Regions from separate parts of the Homo sapiens genome. Here regions 2, 3, 4 and 5 are each linked to region 1. Evidence: promoter capture Hi-C in human tissues and cell types (Jung and others, 2019). All regions are on one chromosome and are shown on one strand. Each heading gives the region's core, a stretch centred on a gene start or on the middle of the fragment in contact. The rest is flanking DNA. Distances are from core to core; before and after follow the strand shown.

The links. Contacts are between HindIII fragments. The study calls those that stand out against the background at their distance.
Region 2: a fragment that was not itself captured here is called in contact with the fragment with the promoter of PDE3A in region 1 in 2 of the 25 tissues and cell types used here (bladder and heart right ventricle).
Region 3: a contact is called between a fragment that was not itself captured here and the fragment with the promoter of PDE3A in region 1, in 1 of the 25 tissues and cell types used here (dorsolateral prefrontal cortex).
Region 4: a fragment that was not itself captured here is called in contact with the fragment with the promoter of PDE3A in region 1 in 2 of the 25 tissues and cell types used here (bladder and mesenchymal stem cells).
Region 5: a fragment that was not itself captured here is called in contact with the fragment with the promoter of PDE3A in region 1 in 1 of the 25 tissues and cell types used here (aorta).

Annotation. Positions count from the first base shown.
Region 1 is chr12:20,365,298-20,370,238 of GRCh38, forward strand. It overlaps PDE3A (phosphodiesterase 3A), which reads left to right and starts at 3,240. Exons shown (of 16, transcript NM_000921.5): 1 at 3,240-4,941. The coding sequence starts at 3,988. It overlaps PDE3A-AS1 (PDE3A antisense RNA 1), which reads right to left. Exons shown (of 2, transcript NR_186033.1): 1 at 4,544-4,941. RefSeq lists a silencer at 4,278-4,572. The HindIII fragment of the contact is 7,833 bases long and covers 1,201-4,941 here.
Region 2 is chr12:20,066,851-20,071,581 of GRCh38, forward strand. The region is part of intron 2 of LINC02398 (long intergenic non-protein coding RNA 2398); the gene reads left to right. Among named protein-coding and RNA genes, the nearest start is that of LINC02398, 55 kb to the left of the region's middle. The HindIII fragment of the contact is 4,269 bases long and covers 451-4,719 here.
Region 3 is chr12:20,102,796-20,107,647 of GRCh38, forward strand. It overlaps LOC105369685 (a long non-coding RNA gene), which reads right to left. Exons shown (of 4, transcript XR_001749038.3): 2 at 2,878-3,046; 3 at 1,824-1,992. Among named protein-coding and RNA genes, the nearest start is that of LINC02468, 23 kb to the right of the region's middle. The HindIII fragment of the contact is 4,215 bases long and covers 423-4,637 here.
Region 4 is chr12:20,018,196-20,023,535 of GRCh38, forward strand. LINC02398 (long intergenic non-protein coding RNA 2398) reads left to right here. Exons shown (of 3, transcript NR_040098.1): 2 at 1,437-1,501. Among named protein-coding and RNA genes, the nearest start is that of LINC02398, 6.2 kb to the left of the region's middle. The HindIII fragment of the contact is 4,103 bases long and covers 1,239-5,340 here.
Region 5 is chr12:20,038,097-20,043,075 of GRCh38, forward strand. The region is part of intron 2 of LINC02398 (long intergenic non-protein coding RNA 2398); the gene reads left to right. It overlaps LOC124902893 (a long non-coding RNA gene), which reads left to right. Exons shown (of 2, transcript XR_007063238.1): 2 at 1-1,354. Among named protein-coding and RNA genes, the nearest start is that of LINC02398, 26 kb to the left of the region's middle. The HindIII fragment of the contact is 5,431 bases long and covers 778-4,979 here.

The DNA of each region.
Region 1 (4,941 bases), core at 1,990-4,489:
AAGAAAGTTCTAATAAATAGTACTTCACCAGTGAAGTAGGAGCATTGGAATAGGAGGAGAGGTCAGAGAGAATTACTTGGAAAGATCATGAAGGTCCTTGTAGGACTGTCATGAGGACTGTGATGAGGACTGCATTCTGCAAGTACGATGGGTAGCCTTTGGGTAGTTTTAAATAGGGGAGGGACATAATTCAATTTATATTTTTAAAGTGTTACTCTGCTATATAGAAAATGAATTATAAGTAGGGCAAGATCAGTTAGTTACTGCACTTGTCCTGGCCAAGGAAGATGATGGGTCTTTGGCAGGTTATTATAAGAGGGACAGTGAAAAGTAAATGGATTTAGAATATATTTTAGAGACAGGATCAAGTGGATTTCCTAATCGACTAAAAGTAAAACAAGATAAACAAAGGAAAGAATCAAGACCCGTTCCCTCTTCTGGGGCCTGAGCAACTAGGTAGATGGTTATGTTCTTTACTGGGATGTAACAAGATTGAGAAAATATAGTTTGGGTGGGTAGGGGATAGGTAGGAAGGGAATTGTAAGTTAAGAATTTTGTTTTGGATACCTTATGTTTTAGGTACCTATTAGATATAAATATATAATAATCAGATAGGTAGCAGAGAATGATTGAACCCATACTACGGAACGTAAACTTACTGAATTTTACAATAGAATCCCCTGACGCTTAACTATATTTAATAAAGCTCAAATGTGAAGGGTTAGATCCTTTTCCCAAAAAACTGTAAAAACATGTTTGCTAGATTTGACTAAGTGGAAGATTTATCAAGTAAAACTTAAATTTTTATTTCTGTTGTCCATGCTCTACTATTTTTCTGCACGTACAACATTTTCCTTATTCTTTGGCTGTGTTGTCACTTTCTTGAACTAGGACTCACCACTATCTGTAGAAAAGAGGCAGTGTTTATATGTGATTGCTCCCTATCCAGTTTATGTATTGCAGCTTATTTCATTTAATATACTCTGTTAAAGGTACATTATTAGTCGCTTCTTTCAGTTAGTATAGCCCTGCAGGTTTCTGCATCTCTCTAACATTAGCATTTTGTTGTCTTTGTTCACTTGCCTCTGGGTTCTGGATGGTATGGGGAGAAAAATCTACCTTCTTTCCTTTTGATGGGACAAATAACTTTTTGATTATGATTTGTTAAAGAAACCTGGATGCCAGGACATTGCCTCCTTATTTTATTGAAGAGTTCCAGGATGTTATTAACACATGGATTTAGAATATTCTTGTTTTGCTGCCATTAGCAAATGCCATTTTTTCCTGTTACAACTTTTAAAAAACATCTGCTTCCCATACCTTAAGTGTTCAGTTTTTATGATAATATTATATTAAATTTTCTAAAGAACTGAGATAATTGTGGGGGTAGGGGACAGATAAAATTGAAATATTCTAAAATTTCCCTTACTATGCTTTTCTTTTTAACCTTGATATATGCCAGATTTTTGGTTTATTATTTTAATATGTTATTTTTGATGCCAACAGATATGAATGATTTTCCAATCAAGGTTTTTCACTCCGATGTGTCCCAGGTAGGATCTGGCATATGAATCATATGTCTAAAAAGGAAACTCATGAAAGTATGTGTGCGTGCTAGGGGGCTCATTTGTCTTTGGCAAAGACATTGCTGCTCCTGTTTCCTTAATTATTAAACAGATGGTGCCCACTGCCATTGACTAGCTGCCCAACTCATACTCCTGTGTGGTAGCACAATTCTGGACATCTGACAGAGAGAAGCTATACCTTTATAGTATATCTGCCTTCTACTAGAACAGGCTGCTTCCCATGAAGCTGTTTAAAACTTAAGTCATCTTCTCCCCCTGTCCCCATAAATTAATTTTATCTCAAGGATCTCCTTTTGGCTTTTTTTATTGCTTCATGTCTACATACAAAATACAGTGGCATATTGAATCAATTATCTAAATGCTCTAGGCTGTAAATACACTTTAACCTGGAATGTCAAGATAATTAAGACAAAATTGGATTATTAAGATTATTATTAGTGAGGGCAAATGACATCTAAGATAGCCATGTTAAAAGTGGAGTATCATATTAAAAAGACAACTAGATCCCAGGGAACATCAATAGAGTTTAAGTCCATTGAACAGATACTGAATTCTTTTTCATAATCTGCCAAAAAAAGGTTAGCTTGAAAATTTTCTTTTAGTTTCTCAAATATCACACTGCTGCAGTACACGAACCTTTACTCATTAATAACTAAGGTCCTGATTTTTTTCATATGCTTTGCTCGAAGATGTAGTATTTTGCAGCCATAGACAGTCTTCTAAGATCTCTCCTAGTGTTAACCCACCTATCCTCACCTCTCCCTTGAGATTTTTCTTTATTTTTTGATGAACTATCTGGGCTTTTAAACTTTGTTAACCTTTTTTGAGGATACGGTCACTTAATCTCAATGTAATTTTACTTTCCACAGTCAAAAACTATTGTGTAATACTCATGCACTGGATTTAAATGACTGCTGCCTCTCCTTCCTTTCTTTTTATACTATTGTGGTCTAGGTAAGGCTGATTCTTCCATCATTTGAACCAACAGGCCAGGCTTGGGTTCTCATAAAGCAGACCTTCCAGCAGGAGCGACCAAAGGATGACACTGTCACCTGAAATTGGACTGCTGTTGTACCTGACTTGGGAACATCTTTGAATCAGACAGTAGAAGTGGCTGTCATTTTCAGGGACAGTAGAAAGTATGTTGGCTCTCATCTGCCAAGTAGGCAAACACAATCTTTTTTTTTTTTTTTTCCTTCCAACGTTCTAGGGAGCTCAGCCTCAGGGCTAGCCGCAGCCCCCCACACCCCGGGGCTGCGGTGGGCTGCGCGGTGGATCAGCCTCAGCAGCCCCTGCTCCAGCCTGTAGGGTGAACCGGCCGCTTTCCCAGCAAAGGAGCAATCGAGCTGAGGGTAGCGCCTCCTCCGCAGGAGGGGGCGGGAGCTCGGCTGAGAAAGCTTTCCTAGGGAGTTGCCTTAAAGAAAGAAAGCGGAATTGTCGATCACTCCAGTTGCCAGTTTTATACAATTTTAAGCAGTCGTCGCCACTCGTTTCCCCTTTGCAAAACTGCAAATCACCACCAACCTTGCATCAAATAGAAGTGGGGAGGGAAAAAAAAAGCAAATCTCCTTCTCCCTTCTCACCCTCCCTTTCTTCTCACCCTCCCTTCCTCTCTTACTCGCTCCTTCTCCCTCCCTCCCTTCTGCGGCTGCCGCTAGTCTCTCGGTCTGGCTCTCTCTCCGACGGGACTTAGCAACTTCTTATTTCTCAGCCCCTTGTCCATTTTTTTTTTTCCATCCTTTGCCATGAATTGGATTGACAGAGGCGGGGGAGGCTTTGCTTTCTGCCCCAGGGAATGGCGATTCGCGTCCTGGGGCCGTGCCGGGGAGAATCGGCCGAGGAGAAAGAAAGAGTGATAGAAAAAGAGCTGCAGGAAGGAGGAGAAGGGAGACCTCCATCTGCCGCGGGCCCGGCGCGCTGCAGCGCAGCGCAGCGCCGAGCTGCGCCTCGGAATGGCCCGGAGCCCGCCCTGCGCCCCCGGCTCCTCCAGCGTCAGCGGCTCCTGCGCGCGGGATGCATTGGGCAATTTTTGAAATCCTGAAGTAGGAAGAGACCCCGGAGGATATAAGTCGGGGGTGGGGGTGGAGCAGAGAATCTGTGAAAGATATTCAAAGAGAGAAAAGGGGAATCCTGATCGTTTCTGCCCGTGCTTGTTTTCAACTTGAGCGTGCTAGCCTTTAACTTGAAGAAGTCTCATTGGAGCATCTAGCATTCTCCAGGAGTTATTCGAAAGCTGAAACTTTCAGTGGATTGTGGGCCTGGGGAGAAGAAGGATTCCGAGGGTGGAATTGGGAAGAGCGTGCGTGCGTGTGTGTGTGTGTGTGTGTGCGCGCGCGCGCGTGGGTCGGGGCGGGGGCGTCGGGGGGCCACTGGGAATTCAGTGAAGAGGGCACCCTATACCATGGCAGTGCCCGGCGACGCTGCACGAGTCAGGGACAAGCCCGTCCACAGTGGGGTGAGTCAAGCCCCCACGGCGGGCCGGGACTGCCACCATCGTGCGGACCCCGCATCGCCGCGGGACTCGGGCTGCCGTGGCTGCTGGGGAGACCTGGTGCTGCAGCCGCTCCGGAGCTCTCGGAAACTTTCCTCCGCGCTGTGCGCGGGCTCCCTGTCCTTTCTGCTGGCGCTGCTGGTGAGGCTGGTCCGCGGGGAGGTCGGCTGTGACCTGGAGCAGTGTAAGGAGGCGGCGGCGGCGGAGGAGGAGGAAGCAGCCCCGGGAGCAGAAGGGGGCGTCTTCCCGGGGCCTCGGGGAGGTGCTCCCGGGGGCGGTGCGCGGCTCAGCCCCTGGCTGCAGCCCTCGGCGCTGCTCTTCAGTCTCCTGTGTGCCTTCTTCTGGATGGGCTTGTACCTCCTGCGCGCCGGGGTGCGCCTGCCTCTGGCTGTCGCGCTGCTGGCCGCCTGCTGCGGGGGGGAAGCGCTCGTCCAGATTGGGCTGGGCGTCGGGGAGGATCACTTACTCTCACTCCCCGCCGCGGGGGTGGTGCTCAGCTGCTTGGCCGCCGCGACATGGCTGGTGCTGAGGCTGAGGCTGGGCGTCCTCATGATCGCCTTGACTAGCGCGGTCAGGACCGTGTCCCTCATTTCCTTAGAGAGGTTCAAGGTCGCCTGGAGACCTTACCTGGCGTACCTGGCCGGCGTGCTGGGGATCCTCTTGGCCAGGTACGTGGAACAAATCTTGCCGCAGTCCGCGGAGGCGGCTCCAAGGGAGCATTTGGGGTCCCAGCTGATTGCTGGGACCAAGGAAGATATCCCGGTGTTTAAGAGGAGGAGGCGGTCCAGCTCCGTCGTGTCCGCCGAGATGTCCGGCTGCAGCAGCAAGTCCCATCGGAGGACCTCCCTGCCCTGTATACCGAGG
Region 2 (4,731 bases), core at 1,335-3,834, 300 kb before region 1:
ACAGCCTTTCAGCTGGAATCTGCTTAAGCCTATGGAACTCCTTGGGGAGAGGTGACCAGCACCAGGCATGTCTGCCTGCTATCTAAACCATTTGAGCTCCTTGGGGAAGCAGCATCCAGCACCGGGACTTGCAACTGCCTAACAAGCTAAGCTCCCTGTGCTGGGGAAGGGCGGCACCCATTTCTATAGCTCCAGGCTGGCCTTTTCCCCTGCTGGAGCCAGGGAGGCTGGACGGCTTGGTCCCAAGACTTGTCCCCACAGCCCAACACACCAGCTGTGGCAATCTGTGGCCAGAGTGCCCCTTCAGGCCTAACCCTGACCCATCCTTCCTCATTGGATGGGGCTTCTTTGCAGGATCTCCAATAACTCCCACCAGAGGCTCAGGGAAAGAATTTGAATCTCCCTGGGCTTGAGCCTCTAGGGGAGGAGTAGCCTCAGTCTCTGCAGACCAGCAGACTTAGCCTTTCCTCCTGGTTGTTCTGAAGAATCTGGGGAGCCCAGGTGAGTGGGTTTCCCCGCAGCAAAGCACACCCTCTCCACCAAGGGACAAAGTGCTTTGTTAAATGGGTCCTGCTCCCCATGCCACCCAACTAGGTGAGACCATCCAACAGGGGTTGTCAGACACCCTATACAGGAACGATCCTACTGGCATCAGGTTGGTGACCCTCAAGGTCAGAGGTCCCAGAAGAAGGAGTAGGCACCCAGCTTTGCTTTTCTCCAGCCTCCTTGATTGACATTTCCAAGCACAGGAGCAAATCAGATGAATAGGGCCTGAAATGAACCACCAGCAAACTGCAGCAGCCCTACAGAAGAGGGACCTGACTATTGAAAGAAAAATAAACAAGCACGAAGTGACCACAATACCATCAACAACAACAACAACAACAAAAGACCCCCACAAAAACCCCATCCAAGGATCAGCAGCCTCAAAGACCAAAACTAGACAAACTCATGAAGATGAGAAAGAATCGATGAAAAAAATGCTGAAAACCCAAAAGGTCAGAGTGCCTGTTTTCCTCCAAATGATTGCAATGTCTCTCCATCAAGGGCTCAGAACTGGGCAGAGGATCAGATGGACGAATTGACAGAAGTAGGCTTCAGAAGACGGATAATAAAAAACTACGCTGAGCTAAAGGAGCATGTTTTGACTCAATGCAAAGAAGCTAAGAACCTTGATAAAAGGTTAGAGGAATTGCTAACTAGAATAACCAGGTTAGAAAGAAACATAAATGACCTGATAGAGCTGAAAAACACAGCACGAGAACGTCATGAAGCATATGCAAGTATCAACAGCCAAATCGACCAAGTGGAAGAAAGAATATCAGAGTTTGAAGACCACCTTACTGAAATAAGACATGCAGACAAGAATACAGAAAAAAGAATGAAAAGGAATGAACAAAGCCTCCAAGAAATATCAGACTTCATAAAAAGACCAAACCTATGATTGATTGGAGTACCATAAGGAGAGGGGGAGAATGGAAACAAGCTGGAAAACACACTTCAGGATATTACCCAGGAGAACTTCCCCAGTCTAGCAAGACAGGCTAACATGCAAATTGAGAAAATACGGAGAACACCATTAAGATACTCCATGAGAAGATCAACCACAAGACACATAATCATCAGATTCTTCAAGATCGAAATGAAGGAAAAACTATTAAGGGCAGCCAGAGAGAAAGGCCAGGTCACCTACAAAGGTAAGCCCATCAGACTAACAGCGGGCCACTCAGCAGAAACTCTACAAGCCAGAAAAGACTGGGGTCCAATATTTAACATTCTCAAAGAAAAGAATTTTCAACCCAAAATTTCATATCCAGGCAAACTAAGCTTCACAAGTGAAGGAGAAATAAAATCCTTTCCGGACAAGCAAATGGTGAGGGATATTGTTACCACCAGGCCTGCCCTGCAAGAGCTCATTGAAGAAGCACTAAATATGGAAAGGAAAAACTTGCACCAGCCACTGCAAAAACACACCAAAATATAAAGACCAATGACACAATAAAGAAACTGCATCAACTCGTGTGCAAAATAACCAAATAGCATCATGATGACAGGATCAAATTCATACATAACAATACTAACCTTAAATATAATGGGCTAAATGCCCCAATTAAAAGACACACAATTAAATGCCAATTGGATAAAGAATCAAAACCCATAGATGTGCTGTATTCAGGAGACCTATCTTACATACAAAGACACACACAGGCTTAAAATAAAGGGATGGAGGAAATTAACCAAGCAAATGGAAAACAAAAAAAAAGCAGGGGTTGCAATCCTATTCTTTGACAAGACAGACTTTAAACCAACAAAGATAAAAAAAAGACAAAGAGCATTACACAATGGTAAAGGGAACAATTCAACCAGCAGAGCTAACTATTCTGAATATATATATGAGCCCAATACAGGAGCACCCAGCTTCATAAAACAAGTTCTTAGAGACCTACAAAGAGACTTAGACTCCCACACAATAACAGTGGGAGACTTTAACACCCCAGTGTCAGTATTAGATCAACAAGACAGAAAATTAACAAGGATATTCAGGACTTGAACTCAGCTCTGGGTCAAGTGGACCTAGTAGATGTCTACAGAACTCTCTACCCCAAATCAACAGAATATACATTTTTCTCAGAGCCACGTGGCACCTTTTCTAAAATCGACCACATAATTGGAAGTAAAACACTCCTCAGCAAATAAATGCAAAAGAGCTGTAATCATAACAGTCTCTCAGACCATAGTGCAATTAAATTAGAACTCAGGATGAAGAAACTCACTCAAAACTACACAATTTCATGGAAATAGAACAACCTGCTTCTGAACGACTCCTGGGTAAATAAGGAAATTAAGATAGAAATCAAGAAGTTCTTTGAAACAAATGAGAACAAAGAGACAACGTACCAGAATATCTGGCACACAGCTAAAACAGTGTTAAGAGGGAAATTTATCGCACCAAATGCCCACATCAGAAAGCTAGAAAGACACCCTAATATCACAATTAAAAGAGCTAGAGAGGCAAGAGCAAACTAATCCAAAAGCTAGTAGAAGACAAGATGTAACTAAGATCAGAGAAGAATTGAAGGAGATACAGATGTGAAAAACCCTCAAAAAAATCCATGAATCCAAGAGATGGCTTTTTGAAAAAATTAAAAAAATAAATAGACCACTAGCTAGACTAATAAGAAAAGAGAGAAGAATCAAGTGGACACAATAAAAAATGACTAAGGTGATATCACCACTGACCCCACAGAAATACGAACTACCATCAGGGATCACTACAAACACCTCTATGCAAATAAACTAGAAAATCTAGAAGAAATGGATGATTTTCTGGATGCATAACCCCTACCAAGAATAACCAGGAAGATATTGAATCCCTGAATAGACCAATAACAAGCTCTGAAATTGAGGCAGTAATTAATAGCCTACCAGCCAAAAAAATCCCAGGACCAGATGGATTCACAGCCAAATTCTACCAGAAATACAAAGAAGAGGTAGTACTATTCATTCAGGAACTATTCCAAACAATTGAAAAGGAGGGACTCCTCTCTAATTCATTTTATGAAGCCAGCATCATCCTGATACCAAAACCGAGAAGACACAACAAAAAAATAAAACTTCAGGCCAATATCTCTGATGAAAATCGATGCAAAAATCCTCAATAAAATACTGGCAAATTGAATCCAGCAGCACATCAAAAAACTTATCCACCACGATCAAGTCAGCTTCATCCCTGGCATGCAAGGCTGGTTCAACATATGCAAATCAATAAACATAATCCATCACATAAACAGAACCAAAGACAAAAACCACATAATTATCTCAATAGATGCAGAAAAGGCCTTTGATAAAATTCAACATCCCTTCATGCTAAAAATTCTCAATAAACTGGGTATTGATGGAACACACCTCAAAATAATAAGAGCTATTTATGACAAACCCATAGCTAGTATCATTTTGAATGGGCAAAAGCTGAAATCATTCCCTTTGAAAACCAGTCCAAGACAAGGATGCCCTGTCTCACCACTCCTATTCAACATAGTATTGGAAGTTCTGGCCAGGGCAATTAGGTAAGAGAAAGAAATAAAGGGTATTCAAATAGGAAGAGAGAAAGTCAAGTTGTCTCTTTTTGAAGATGACATGATTTTATATTTAGAAAACCCTATCATCTCAGGCCAAAAGCTTCTTGAACTGTTTAACAACTTCAGCAAAGTCTCGGGATACAAAATCAATATGCAAAAGTCACTAGCATTCCTTTACGCCTACAATAGGCACGCAGAGAGCCAAATTAAGAACTCCCATTTACAATTGCTACTAAGAGAACAAAATACCTAGGGATACAGCTAACCAGGGATGTGAAGGACCTCTTCAAGGAGAACTACAAATCACTGCTCATGGAAATAAGAGAAGACACAAACAAATGGAAAAACATTCTATTCTCGTGGATAGGAAGAATCAATACCACAAAAATGGCCATACTACCCAAAGTAATTTATAGATTCAATGCTATTCCCATCAAACTACCGTTGACATTCTTCACAGAATTAGAAAAAACTATTTTAAATTTCATATGGAATCAAAGAAAACCCTGTACAGCCAAGACAATCCTAAGCAAAAAGAATAAAGCTGGAGGCATCACACTACCTGACTTCAGACTATACTACAAGGCCACAGTAACTAAAACAGTATGATGCTGGTACCAAAACAGACATTTACACCAATGGAGCAGAAAAG
Region 3 (4,852 bases), core at 1,280-3,779, 260 kb before region 1:
TTCATTTTATATTATTTCCAAAAATATTTTTATTATTTTGTCTTAAAGTTTCAATAGGATCTGAAAAGAGATAGCTAAGAATTTGGATTTTTGGGCCAGGAGCGGTGGCTCACGCCTGTAATCCCAGCACTTTGGGAGGCCAAGGCAGGTGGATCACAAGGTCAGGAGATCGAGACAATCCTGGCTAACACGGTGAAACCCCATCCCTACTAAAAAAAAAAATACAAAAAACAATTAGCCGGGCATGGTGGTGGGCACCTGTAGTCCCAGCTGCTCGGGAGGCTGAGGCAGGAGAATGGCATGAACCCAGGAGGTGGAGCTTGCAGTGAGCCGAGATCACGCCACTGCACTCCAGCCTGGGCGACAGAGCAAGACTCCGTCTCAAAAAAAAAAAAAAAAAAAAAGAATTTGGATTTTTGAAAAAATGCTGCTTGTTAGATAAATCTGAGCTCTTGCCATTTCCTAATCACATTGATGATTTAGAAAATTAGTAGAGAATCTATAGACGGGGTCACACTCCTGTCACCCAGGCTGGAGTGCAGTGGTATGATCATGGCTAACTGCAGCCTTGAGTTGCTGAGCTCAGGTGATTCTCCTGCCTGAGCCTCCCGTGTAGCTGTGACTTGAAGATGTGCCACCATACCTGGCTAGTTTTTTATATTTTTAGTAGAGATGGGGTTTTTCCATGTTGCCAGACTGGTCTCAAACTCCTGGGTTCAAGTGTTCTGCCTGCCCTGGCCTCCCAAAGTGCTGGGATTACAAGTGTGAGCTACCGCACCCAGCCATATTTTTATTCATTCATATAATGAATGGCATCTCATTTATGTTTCATGCCAGACCAATGTTCCAGGGTCTTGCACTGATTCCCACATACATTGTGTCAATGACTGGCATAATAACACTGTCTTATAGTAATAATAATAGAATCTATTTATGAGGATATTTTAGAAAATCAGTGAGCTATAAAATCTACTTGATTGGAGCAGATTGTAAACCACAGCTATTGTTTTGTTGGGTTAATCAAAGCATCAAAAATTATAGATTAAGGACTTCTCTATTTTCTGTCAAAAGGGAACTAAGAATATGTTCTCATGGGTATGAAGTGAACAATAATTCTCTCTCTTTCTCTCCCATATTCACTTTTCTATTTGTCTCTGAGTAGAAAATTATCCAGTAGACACTAATGGTCTACATGGCTGTTTAGAGAATTTTTTTTTTTTTTTGAGATGGAGTCTCACTTTGTCACCCAGGCTGGAGTGCAGTGGCGCGATGTCGGCCCACTGCAACCTCCACCTCCTGGGTTCAAGCAATTCTCCTGCCTCAGCCTCCCAGGTAGCTGGGATTACAGGCGCCTGCCACCACGCCCAGCTAATTTTTGTATTTTTAGTAGAGGCAGGATTTCACCATGTTGGCCAGGCTGGTATTGAACTCCTGGCCTCAGGTGATCTGCCCGTCCCAGCCTCCCAAAGTGCTTGGATTGCAGGTGTGAACCACTGTGCCCAGCCTTAGAGAAAAATTTATGCCAACTGAGTACAAAATGATCGGAGGTAACACCATCATCCAGAGAAGAGTAAAACCAACATGTGAAGGGCATGAATTCTATCTGGATGGATTTATTGGCTCAACCAATACATTACAATTACATATTTGGCATTTACCATGCATTCAGTGTGGGAGCACTTATAAGATAACTTACTGACCATATACTTGCAACTTATTTGGATAGATGAATGTGGTAAGATGTCTTAGTCTGTTTTGTGTTGCTTATAACAGAGTACCTGAAACATGGGGTAATTTATAAAGAAAAGGAATTTATTTCTTACAGTTAAAAAGACTGAGAAGTCCAGGGTCTAAGGGCTGCATTTGGTGAGTGCCGTCTTGTTGGTAAGGACTCTGCAGTCTTGAGGTGGTGCAGGGCATCACATGGTGAAGGAGCTGAGTGTGCCAGCTCAGGTGCCTCCTCCTCTTCTTACAGAGCCACCAGTCCCACTCCTGTGAAAACCCATCCATTGACCCATTTATCCATTAATCTATGAATGGATTAATCCATCCCTCATGACCCAGTCACCTCCTAAAGGCCCACCTCTCAATACTGCCAGGCTGGGGATTAAGCTTCAACATAAATTTCAGAGGAGACAACCATTGAAACCATAGTGTAGGATAATGTGCAAACAACCAATGTATTTCCCATTCTCTATTCACTCTCATTCGTATACTTTAGACTTGTGACCGGACTGCATTTTGGCCAGCCAGAGGTTTTTCAAAGGGAATCTGTCATGAATAGCTTTAAGACAGGAAAAAATTAGGAAAAGAGGTGACTGGGCAGAAGCAGCCACCCACTCCACCACCGTATAAGCTAATCTTGTTAAGCTGTAGAGGGAAGGAGGGAGTTAGACAACCATAATCTTAGAAAACATAGAAAAAGGGAATATTACAGCATTTCTTATTAAATGTAGGAATGTAAGTCTGAGAGTAGAGAGACTAAATGGCTCTTTTCACTGGAATGCCAGAAAGTGTAGTCTTACAGATGTGTCCTGGCCATAGACGTGACAATAGGCAATGAAAAGAGCTGTTTAGAAACTATAAGTGGCAGAGAGGGCTAAAAATAGCCCTAAATTTCTTTTCATCCCAAGAGAGCAGCTAAATTTTCTCAGTACTTTAGTAAAAGGCATAGAAGTTTGCTCAGCAAGAAATCCTACTTCCCAGAAAGGCCTTACACAGGTGACGTGGGTTATAGAATTATATTCTGTCAGTCATCTATTGCTGCGTTACATTCCTGCCCTCCAAAACCTAATGGCTTCAAACAACAACCATGTATGTGCCCATGATTCTGAAATTTTGCCTTGGGTAAGCCAGGCTGTTTTCCGCAGGCCTCACCTGGGCTTGCTCAGGTAGTAGCAGTCATCGGTGGCTTGACTGGGGCCGGGCAGGGAGGCTGCATCGAAGGTAGCATCCCTCTCATGTCTGGGGTGTTGGTGTTGGCTATTGCCTTTGTAATCAATGATCTGTGAAATCTCTTATCCTTCAAAAGTTGGATCCAGGCTTCCTTAAACAACAAGGGTAATTTCCAAGCATGTAAAGAAAAAGCTGCAAGACTTATTGAGAATTAGGCTCTAGAACTCATACAACACTTTTTAATCACGTTCTGTTAGTCAAAACAAGTCAGAAGGTAAGCCTATTTTCAAGGAATAGGTAAATAGATTCCACTACTTAATGACAGGAGTTGCAATGTTTTTGTGGCCATATTTAATATATCACAGTCCTCTCTCTGGCTACCATTATTTACATTCTTCCCAAGCAACACATGCTGATCTCTCTTACCAAAGTCTCATCTCTTGAAGTGTTTAGACTTGTGCAATGCATTACCATGGCTATGTGCCACATGTGGCTACTGAGCACTTGAAATATGGCAGGTATGAATTGAGTTGTGCTGTTATTGGAAATACACACAGGATTTCAAAGACTTAGTAGGAAGATTGTAAAATATCTTTTAAATACCTTTTTATATTGATTATGTGTTTACATCATAATTTGGACATATTGGGTTACATAAAATATATTTTAAAAATTATTTTCACCTGTTTTTAAGTTTGCTTACTTTTTTATGTACCTGCAGCAAAAAATCACATAAGTGGCTTGTATTATATTTCTATTGCATAGCAGAGATTTAGACCAATGGTTGGTGAACTTTTTTTGTAATGGACCAAATAAATATTTTTGGCCTTGTGGGCCACACAATTTCAGTTGCACCTATTCAACTCTCATTGTCATACAAAGCAGCCATAGATAATATATAAACAAATGAGCATGGCTGTGTTCCAATAAAACTTTATTTACAAAAATGGGTGGCAGACTGGATTTGGCCTGTAAGGCAGTATTTTGTTTCACTTGTCTGACATCTTTAACATTTAATGTAATTATTAATATGGTTGGATTTCAGTGTACCATTTTGGGGAGCGGGAACGGGCTTGTTTTTTCTGTTTTTTGTTTCTTCTTTTTCTGCCTTCTATTGGATTGACAGTTTTTGTTTTAATATTTCATTTTAATTTATCTGTTGTCTTTTTGGTTACATCTCTGTATTTTTAAAGTGGAATTATGAGGATTATCATATACATACTTAAACTTTTATAAATATCTAGGCCTAAATACACGTCTTTGATCTTTTTGTGTTAATCCATAGATCCTTTAGGCTATAGATATTTTAAAAAACATTTTTTCTCTCAGTTCTTCATATGGATACTTTTTATTGACATATCTCCAAATTCACAGAATCTTTTCTTTGTCACTTCATTCTACTTTCAAGACCATTAATTGACATTTTTATTTCAGGCATTGTATTTTTTTAGTCCTTAAGTTTTCACTTCTCTTTTTTATAGTGTATATATCTCTATTGTGATTTTCTATTTTTCATTTATTTTTTGTTTTCCTTTTTGTATGGATGTAGTTATTACAGCTGCCTTTCCGTTAAGAATGGGACTTTGGGGCTGGGTGTGTTGGCTCATGCCTATAATCTCAGCACTTTGGGAGGCCGAGGCGGGCTAATCACAAGGTCAGGAGTTTGAGACTAGTCTGGGCAACATAGTGAAACCCCGTCTCTACTAAAAATACAAAAAAATTAGCCAGGTGTGGTGGTGTGCGCCTGTAATCCCAGCTACTCGGGAGGCTGAGGCAGGAGAATCACATGAACCCGGGAGGCGGAGGTTGCAGTGAGCCGAGATCGCGCCATTGCACTCTAGCCGAAGTGACAGTGCGAGACTGTCTCAGAAAAAGAAAAAAAGAATAGGTCTTTGTCAGGTAATTTGGATTTTATGCAGCACATTGTAAATGTTATGAGTGTAGACTCTGGCTTCTG
Region 4 (5,340 bases), core at 2,040-4,539, 350 kb before region 1:
TATTGATAAGAGGGAGAGAATATACTCTGATTTTTAAAAAGAGAAAAAATGAAAGAGATATAAGGAAAGGAAAAAAGAGAGAAAGCAAGCAAGTAATCAAGCACAAAGTCATGACAAAGAGTGAAAATAAATTTATTTTGCTGGTTAAAAATTAACAGGTATCATAAAACCAATGACAGTCTTCTTTGATAATGTATCAACTCAAACCCAATAAAAGTAGTTGACCAGGTCATGCTTCTGCTTTTTTTTTTTTTTTTTTTTTTGCCCTTTTATGTAATGTCATTCTTTCATTGTGATGGTGTTACCCAAAGTTGAAAAAAATTTATGGCTAAATAAACTAATTAATGTTAACCACCATTTTGTCATGTGAAGGGTGAGGATTGTAAATAAACATCAAAAGGAGTAATTGTTCTTTAGATGACGTCTGTTTATAATAGGAGGCATGAGTTATGCAATGCATCTCAAATAAAAGATGTTTTATTACCATCATTGCACGTTACCTGAGTTACTTATATGACCAATGTAAAGTTAGATAAGTGGAGAGAAATAGTCCACACTGGGGATGGGGACGGTGGCTCACTCCTGTAATCCCAGCACTTTGGGAGGCTGAGGCAGGTAGATCACTTGAGGTCAGGAGTTCAAGACCAGCTTGGCCAACATGGTGAAGCCCCATCTCTACTAAAAATACAAAAATTATCCAGGCGTGGTAGTGGGTGCCTGTAATCCCAGCTACTCAGGAGGCTGAGGAAGGAGAATTGCTTGAACCCAGGAGGCAAAGGTTGCAGTGAGCCAAGATCGCTCCGCTGCACTCCAGCCTGGACAACAGAGCGAGACTCCATCTCAAAAACAAACAAACAAACAAAAACAGATAGTCCATAGTCCACAATGGGTCTTAGAGGATAATGCATTCTGAGCTACCATTTCAAATTAAAAAAAATTGTTAACTTGTTTCCAAAGACACTGATCTGTGTTTGACTACAGCCAAAAATGCCAGCATGATGCCAGGTATAACCAGGATTTAGAATAAAACTAAAAACATGTACACACACACACTCGTAACGAGGGAATTATATAGAAAATTCATATAGTCACTTCTAACTTGAGTATTGTATGACATTGCTAAAATTTTAAAGAATATGTTTACTTATTTTTTACTGTTAATCTTGCTAGATAATTGGCAAGATAATAATATTTTTAATTTGAATATATGTCATTAAACATAACATTTCCAGAAACTTGTTAAGGAAAGAAGATAAGTATAAATGTTTATGGCATGTAAGACAGTGACTCTAAGGTTAATAGGCAAATCAAGTTGCTGTAGGAAAGGAGAATATTAAATTTGTTTTGTTTAAACCACTAAATTGGTGGTAATTTGTTACAGCAGCAAAGATAACTAATATATATCTCATAACATTCTTCATCCTCACTTTTTCCAGCTTCTAAAGGGCCTCGCACATTCCTTGGCTTGTGATGTCCCTTCCCCATCATCAAAGACAGCAACGTGAGTTAAGTCCTTACCATATCACATAACCCTGAACTTACTTCTGTCATTACATCTATTTCTCTGACTCTGTTCTTCTGCCTCTCTCTTCTACTTTTGAGCGTCCTTGTGAATACATACCCAGAATAATCTCCCTATTTTAAGGAGAAATCTTGATTCCATCTGCTACCTTAATTTCCCTTTGCCATATACTGTAACATATTCACAAGCCCTGGGGATTAGAATGTGGACATCTTTAGGAAGTCATTGTTCTGCCTACCACAGATACATTGGGCAAATAGTTACCAAAGAAAGCTGGTATAGTAATAGTAATACCTGGCAAAATTGTGTTTAAATCAAAATATATTAGTAAGGAAAGGGAGAAACTGCAAAATGATAAAATCTACCAAGAAGATATACAATGTAATTGTCAATAAGAAGTAAAGCCAAGACTTGGAGCTAGGTTTGTGTCTACTGGTTCAATGTTCCTACCAACAAAAACCTCTAAAGAACACAGACCTATAAAAACCTCTACTTGAAGCCCACTGTGCAAGTACTGGTAAATTTCTTGCCCAAAATGAAAATAATAATTATAACCTGCACCATAGGGCTATTGTAAAAAATACCTTAGGATTGAGACACACTGCAGCTATCATATAAACGTTAAATAAAAATAATGCTTCCTGTATCCTTACTAGGGTTGGGCAAATCCAGATGTATATTATACTTTTCACATATTTCAAAATATTTTCAAATGTTTTGGTTTGGGTTCAACAAAAACCTCAAGTACAAAAAAAAAAAAATAGAAAGGAGAATATTTTTTGAGTCGGAGTCTTGCTCTGTCACCCAGGCTGGAGTGCAGTGGCGCCATCTCAGCTCACTGCAAGCTCCATCTCCCGGGTTCATGCCATTCTCCTGCCTCAGCCTCCCAAGTAGCTGGGACTACAGGTGCCCGCCACCACACCCAGCCAATTTTTTGTATTTTTAGTAGAGACAGGGTTTCACCGTGTTAGCCAGGATGGTCTCGATCTCCTGACCTCGTGATCTGCCCACCTCGGCCTCCCAAAGTGCTGAGATTACGGGCATGAGCCACCGCGCCCGGCTGAAACTATACATATATTTTTAAAGAACTAGAAAAACAAGCTGAAGCTAGCCACTGTATTTAAAGCTATTTATTCCTTTCACTGGTGGCTATCACATTATTTACATTTTTCCCTTTGTTGCAAACTTACAAATTCATATTGTTCCCTTTTTTAGTATATTTTATGTACTAACTTTCTTAGTCATTTAAAAAGTTTTTTTCTGATAATATAATAGTGATATCTTTATTATCAATTAATGGAATATATGATGCTAATTGATTTTTCAGGCAGTTGACAGAACAGCAAGTTATAAATATTTTAACCATTTGAGGAGTATTCTTCCTAAAATCTAGTACATAGTTCCCTACTGAAAAGGATATACTGATAAAATATAACTTTTGTCATGTGGGCCAAAAAGATTATGAAGTTGCAATAGTCTATTTTGTTGTCATTTGACTTTTGGAGTTTTATTTAGCTTTCAGTTTTGTGTCATATCTACATACATAGGTGGATATTCCATCAAGGGCAGGGATTAGTACTCTGAGTTCAGCATGGTGCTCTGCACATAGTAAGTGGGTGGTAAATATTTGTGAGTTATATATTATGAGCTAAATTGTGTCTCCTGAAATTCATATGTTGAAATCTTAACCCCCAGTACCACAAAATGTGACTGTATTTGGAAATAGGGTCTTTAAAGAGGTAATTAAGTTAAAAAGAGGTCATTAAGGTGGGCTCTAATCCAGTATGACTGGTGCCCTCATAAAAAGAGGAAATTTGGACACAGACACATACAGAAGGAAGATGATCTGAAGACTCAGGGAAAAGGTGGTCATTGCTCTTTGATCTCAACCTTCTAGCCTCCAGAACCAGGAGAACAAAATTTCTGTTGTTTAAATCAATCACCCAATCTGTGACGCTTTGTTATGACAACCCCCTAGAAAGTACTGATAAATGATAATCCTATGTTGCCCTATGAGAGAACAAAGTTTGCCAACAGAACCTTATGCTTTTATTATTCTTATGTCTTCCTTCCTTCCTTCCTTTCTTTTTTGTCTTGTGCCTTCTTCGTAGGTCTCAAAGTATCAACTATGAACTATTACTTAAAAGTGCTTGAATACTAGAATATTCACTTGATACAAATAATTAAAACTCTCAAAGCCTTTGTGGTTGTTTTTATTTCTGCATTTCAAGTTGTATTTTGAGCTTTTTTTTTTTGGAAAGATTCTGCGTAACTGGAGTTATAGCAGCAGAGTTCTATTTGAAACTCTTTTCTGTACTAACGTTTTGACTTTGTCACTTTACTTCTCTGTCAAAGGAGACTGGTGATAATACTTTATTAGGGAGCAGTGGGATTCAAATGAAATACTGCATGTGAAAAATTACTTTGCAAACTTAGCAGTGTAACACAAACACTCATCATCATAACTAGAAGTCTGGCCTCCTGACAAATACCTGTTGACAAGTAAGGATTTGTTGTACCAGTCAGTTTATTGTTAACTAATAATAGATTATTTAAAACACTGATAGCTGTAGCCCTGTGTTGAATCGGATCATACATCAAATGTATGTAGTCATTTCTTTGAAAATAGAGGATGACGAGGAAAAGTTCTAAATTCATGTTGTGAAAGGATTGTCTGTAGTTTCTTTGGAATTTTTTTAAAATAAAGAGATAAAATTTTTTTCTTTTCTCTTTTAATAATTTTGAATTATATTTTTCCCCTAATTTAAACTTATGTTTTATTTATTTTTGATTAGTTAGCATGACATACCTTTTTGTTTTTGTTTTGTTTTTTTGAGTCTTGCTTTTGTCACCCAGGCTGGAGTGTAGTGGCTCAATCTCGGCTCACTGCAACCTCGGCCGCCCTGGTTCAAGCTTCTCCTGCCTCAGCCTCCTGAGTAGCTGGGATTACAGGTGCCTGCCACCACACCCGGCTAATTTTTGTACTTTTAGTAGAAATGGGGTTTTGCCATGTTGGCCAGGCTGGTCTTGAGCTCCTGACCTCAGGTGATCTGCCCGCCTCAGCCTCCCAAAGTGCTGGGATTACAGGCGTGAGCCACTGTGCTTGGCCAGCATGACATATCTTTAAAAAATTTTTTTTAAGAGACTAGGTGTTGCTCTCTGCCCAGACTGGAGCGCAGTGGCATCATCACAGGTCACTGAATCCTTGAAATCCTGGGCTCAAGAGATCCTCCCGCCTCAGCCACCTGAGTAGTTGGGATCACAGGTGTGCGCCACCACCACCACGCCTGTCTAATTTTCTTTTTCTTTTTTAGAGACTGAGTCCAACTGTCTTGCCCAGGCTGGTCTCAAACTCCTGGACTCAAGCAGTCCTCCTACCTTGGTGCCACCACGTGCTGGGATTACAGTTGTGAGCCACTGCACTTAACCTGACATATCATTTTTTAATCCTCTTAATTTTTTAAAAAGTTTTTTATTGTTAAATTGTGGATAAAATTGTATACATTTATCATGTACAACATGATGTTTTGAAGTACATATACATTGTGGAATAATCAAGTTACATTCTACAGTGGTTCATATGACCACAAATTTATAGAAGTTCAAATGGAATTTTTATTAACAATGGTTAGTTTAGATTTTATTTAATTTATTGACATACAAGTATTAGATATGACTCAAATGTGAGTATGTTGCCTAATGTATCTATTTTCTCTTTTATCAGTTATGTTTTATGAAGCAATTTGAAAATAAATAAATTAGCCCCAAACTATATAACCAGTGATACCCAGTTTTAAATGCAATTATTTTCAAATGTA
Region 5 (4,979 bases), core at 2,243-4,742, 330 kb before region 1:
CTTAAAGTTCAGTTGCGATGTGAGATCTGAAAGCTTGTTAATGAAGTTTATCTACTCTGTACATTACAATCTGCTGGTCTCTTGTACTTTTACCCATCCTTGGTTTTGTAACATGATATATTATTCACTTGGAAACTCTTGATTTGTTGAGTTAATACAGTCCTCCTAAATGTAGACATATTTTATTATATGTTATTAAAAACAGTTTTCATTAAAATAGCCATTGAGCTCATTTAAAAAGTCTTTAAGTATTGAGAAGTAATCAGACTCACAGTGGCAAATAGCAGTTTTCCAAAATTCTAATTTTTGCTTGAAAACTTGCATTTTATTATTGGCAATAAGCCTGTCAATTGTTTTTCTTGAAGTAACTGGCTTTTTTCATTTTGAAGGCATTATCAGCCAAATGGACAAATCTGCACAGTGATAGTTTATCTGCATTCTTTGAAGTAAAAATCGTGTTCCTGAAAAAAAGCCCTGGTTCTGTTTGCAACTCAAAATATTGCACATATCCTATTACTTGAGAAAACCATCGTACTTTGTTATACAGCAGAAATGCTTTACGTGGGCCACATTACATCACATAGAATGTTTAAAAGATGTAGACTAATGGACCAAGATTTAATAAAATTGATAATTTTTACTGTTTCATGAAGGAAATTCTAAATTGAAACCTTTTTTTTTTTTTTTTAGATTGAGAGTGTATAGAGAAGTTGTTGGGTGCCATGGCCTTATGTAGGGCTAAGGCACAAATAGCTTTGCTCACCTTTGCTTTTGCACCAACAGTGCAAATGTGAACACAAAGAAGTAAAGAACACTTTAGTATAATAATAAAAACACTGTTGATCTTTCTAACTCCTGAAAAGTTCTCTAGGACCCCTATGGGTCCATAGAATACATTTTCAAGACTGCTGCCCTAGAGCAATATTTTGATTTCACTCACAATTCAGAAACTCTTAGAGGTAAAATACTAATTCATATCTGTTGGTTTTAAAAGCACATGCTTTTTTTTTCTATTTTCAATAATCAGTTTAACCAATATGAATTTTTTTATTTTTAGTAAGAGTGTTACTTAATGCCATATCTCATGGCTCAAATGGTAGTAAATGACCAAAACAGCATAGGAGAAAGTAGCAAATGTACGTTTAGTCTCATCATAAGGAAAGAATAGTGCTAGAAAAATAAATGGTCTTTTTCTATATCATCTGTTGTAAGGACACTTTGCATGGAAAATTGGAAAGATTTTTATGTATGTTTATTCTCATCATGTTTGCCATTTTACCATTTAGCTACTCCACTTGTAAATTTTTATTACTAAAATTGTCTAATCTCATTAAAATGAGTTTATACCAGTAAATGGTGGTGCTTTTGAGTCTAAACAAAAATATACAAATTTCACTTCATTATATTCACAGTAGGCAGCTCACTCGAGCAATATTTTCCCATTCTGACATGTGCTGTCAGGATCTATGGCCTTTCTCAAGAAAGAAAGAAATTCTCTTTGCAAAATACAGTAAAAACTAAGCTTCTATTCTGAATTTGTAAATTTTCCTTTCTTGACACAGACATGAACTGCTGCTGTCTTAAATCTTGCACTCCCAAAGGAAAGTGCGCCTTCCCGCTGTCTTTTCTTTCTTTATTCTCACCCCTCCGCATATAAATCTAGTCTGCTCGTGCTTTCCAAACTGTCTACACTTTTTACAGAATAGCAACAATGGATGAGACTACTGAAAAGATGTGCCATGTTGGTATAGTAGCTATTATTTCAACAATGCCAAGCAATAGCACAGCAAAGGAGATGCAATCTTCCTAGAATTAGTTTTACTTTAAATGAGAACAATCTTAGTAAATCTGATAAATTAACAAAAATAAAACCCTCTGGTTACTTCAGATAAAGTGCAAAGAAAACAAGCTCTTTCAGTTTCCTCATTTCAAGTGAAGTTCGCAGGGGAATTATTTGACTTTACAACTTTATGATATGTTTGATGCATTTTTAGTACTTTGTGTATTTTTCATTGTAACATTTTAAATGACTGTTAAGGAGTTAGAGTGACCATCCACAGCACACATGGAAAAATGCTGCTTAGAAGCATGGGACATTAATAAGTGAACTGATATTTATATCTTAGAATTTGTTTACTTTTTTGAGAATCTCATTAGAAACCTATGCTGGGATATAAAATTCTTTAGGCAGATTTCACTAAGTAGAGCCAATTGTCCTTTGTTTCTTTTGCTGAACCCAGTATTGCATAAAACTGCCAATGCACAACCAAGCTGTAGGCTGATGGAAAACAACATCAGCCAAGAGATTCACCTAGAAGCCAGCTAACGGAGCTGGGTTCCCTTTTGGTGTGAAGGCATCAGAAGACCATCAGCTCTAGAAATAAAACTGAAAAAAAAAAAAAAAAGAAAAAAGAAAAAAAAAAACAACTCTGGCAAGCCGTGTGGAGAAAGACTATGGCTGACAACACATAACTAGTCTTTATCTTTCCAAGGTGATGTGAGAGTTCTTAATTCACTTTTATCTTTTGCAGATGCCCAGAAATAGTTCTAGGCATTTTGAAATCATCGCTAATAGAATAACAATACATACAAGTAATATGGTGCTGGATTTTGAATGGCTGTTAGTAAGACAAACAGCTCCACAAAGTCAATTCTCTCCTTAATACCCACTGTCCTAAACATTTTGCATTAGTCTTTCTTGTTCTCAGTACCTTACATAATCACATTTGCATCCCATCTGTCCCCACCCCCACCATGATTTTTCCCTCCATTTAGAAGGGAAAGTAAAGAAAAATATTTTCTTACCAAATTCTTTTGCTCTCTCACTTTTTCTGCATTGACACAGCAACCAAGCCAGCTGTCAGCAGAGGCTGCTTGGTGCTTTAGAAACGTGTATCAGCAGAACACATTCTGTCCTTGTGCCAGGGCAAATTAGAGGAGCAGCCAGCAGGGTGGTTACTGGTTCTGGTAAGGAGAGAAGCGTCTACTCAGCACTCACTTTTCTATCCCTGCCCACCTGCCCCTTTCCGTCCTGACTTCCTGCTTGCAGGGATCCTTCTTTCACCTCTCTAGGGCTGGTGCTATGGAGCTCTGAATTCACCAGTTATTATATTGATTGTGAGGTTCCAGTGCTCTTCCTAACCTGCAAGAAATAATTAGAACCCGCTCCTTCTTAACCCTACACCACTAATTTTCAAACACAGGTGTGTTGTGTAAAGTGTGAAGCATCTGAGACTTTGTAGGTAGGCAAGGGATCTTCATTTTTAATAAATATAAGGTAATTTTAACTAAAATAATCTCAAGATTAATTTTGAGAAACATTTAAAAATTGTATTTCCACCTCTTCTTAGGGCATCGTGCAACCTTGGATATGGGGAAAGGAGGACATTGGAAAAACTTCCAAGTGAATCTGATTCTGGACCCGTCCTTGACAACCATTTCTCTAGACCAGGAATCCTCAATTCTGGCTCTACCATAGACTCAGCTAGGGAGGGCTTTTTGTTTGTTTGTTTGCTTTTTAATGTAGATACCCAGATCCATCCACCCCCAAAGATTCTGATTTACTAACTATTGGTATTTTAAAAAATCTCCCCAAGTGACTCTAATATATAAGTCTCAAGTAAATGTTCTCAAAGTGTGGTTCCCAGATCACCATCACTTGAGAACATGTTAGAAATGCACGTATTCAGACCCATCCCAGATCTACTGAATCAGAAATTCTGGGATTGGAACCAGCAACCCATCTTTAGAGACCTCAGGTGATTCTAATACATGCTAAAGTTTGAAAACCACTGCTCTAGACCAAACTTCAAACTTCAAAAAAAATAGATATTTAGATAATACAGTTGAAGCTTAAACAACATGGGTTTGAACTGCAGAGATATTTTTTCAACTACATGTGGATGGGAAATACAGTGTTTATGGGATATGAAACCTGAGTATATGGAGGGCTGACTTTTTCCATATGTAGACACCAACTGCGGGGACTTAATTATATCTTCCATCTCTTCCATGTTAGTATAATATTTGCACACATATACCTTAGCAAATAATCTAATGCCATTCCTAACATAATGGTTGATTTGCTATAGGCAGAACATTTAATTAATTACAGTGATAGAAAATAATATAACCTCCCCACCAAGAGATGTAGGATGCAGTTAACCTTGCTACTCATTACTGTATCACGTTTAGTGTCAGCATTCTTCTAAAATAAGTGTAAGAACTTAAAAAATGAATAAGATGCTGAAAGAGGATGAGCACAACTTTATAGCATTTCTCCTCTCTCCCCCAATATTACATGGAAAGGGTAGAAAATATGGCATTCAATACATTAAGCAGCTTTCTAAATGTGGCTTCCTTTCAAATTCATTTTAAAGTTTAATAAAGTTGTGACATTTATTTGGCAGTTATGCGGTAAGATATTTTTATATACCAGTGCAGATTCTAAGAGTATACGAGTATCAGATTCCTTAGTCTTTATAATAACATTTGAGGTAGGTATGGCTACAATATAAAGGAGGGAAGCAAGACGAGGAGAGATGAAGTAATTTACCCAAGATGACCCAGCTATCAAGTGGCTGAGCCTATGCCCTTAGTAACTACATTATACAGGCAAAATCAAAGCTGTGGATTGGTTCTTTAATGTCTTAAAACTTTATTTTGGTCAAAACCACTTTTTCTCCATGACCTATATTTTTCTTCTTATTTCTCTAGTGTTTCTTTTTGCATTTGTTTCTAATTTTTCATTGTTTTTTGGGGAAAATGTTTTATGTCACTTCTGTTTATGACATACATTATGATTTTTCTGTTTTTAATCGGTTGGGGTAAGTAACTGAAAAAAAAATCTGCCCTTTCAATCACAGGATGTTTTGAATCTATTGTTTTAACTAAGTTGAGATGTTATTTGCATAAGTAAAAAGAGGTAAACATATTTCATTTTCAAATTTTCCCAGGCGATGTTAGCAGGTTCCTCTACT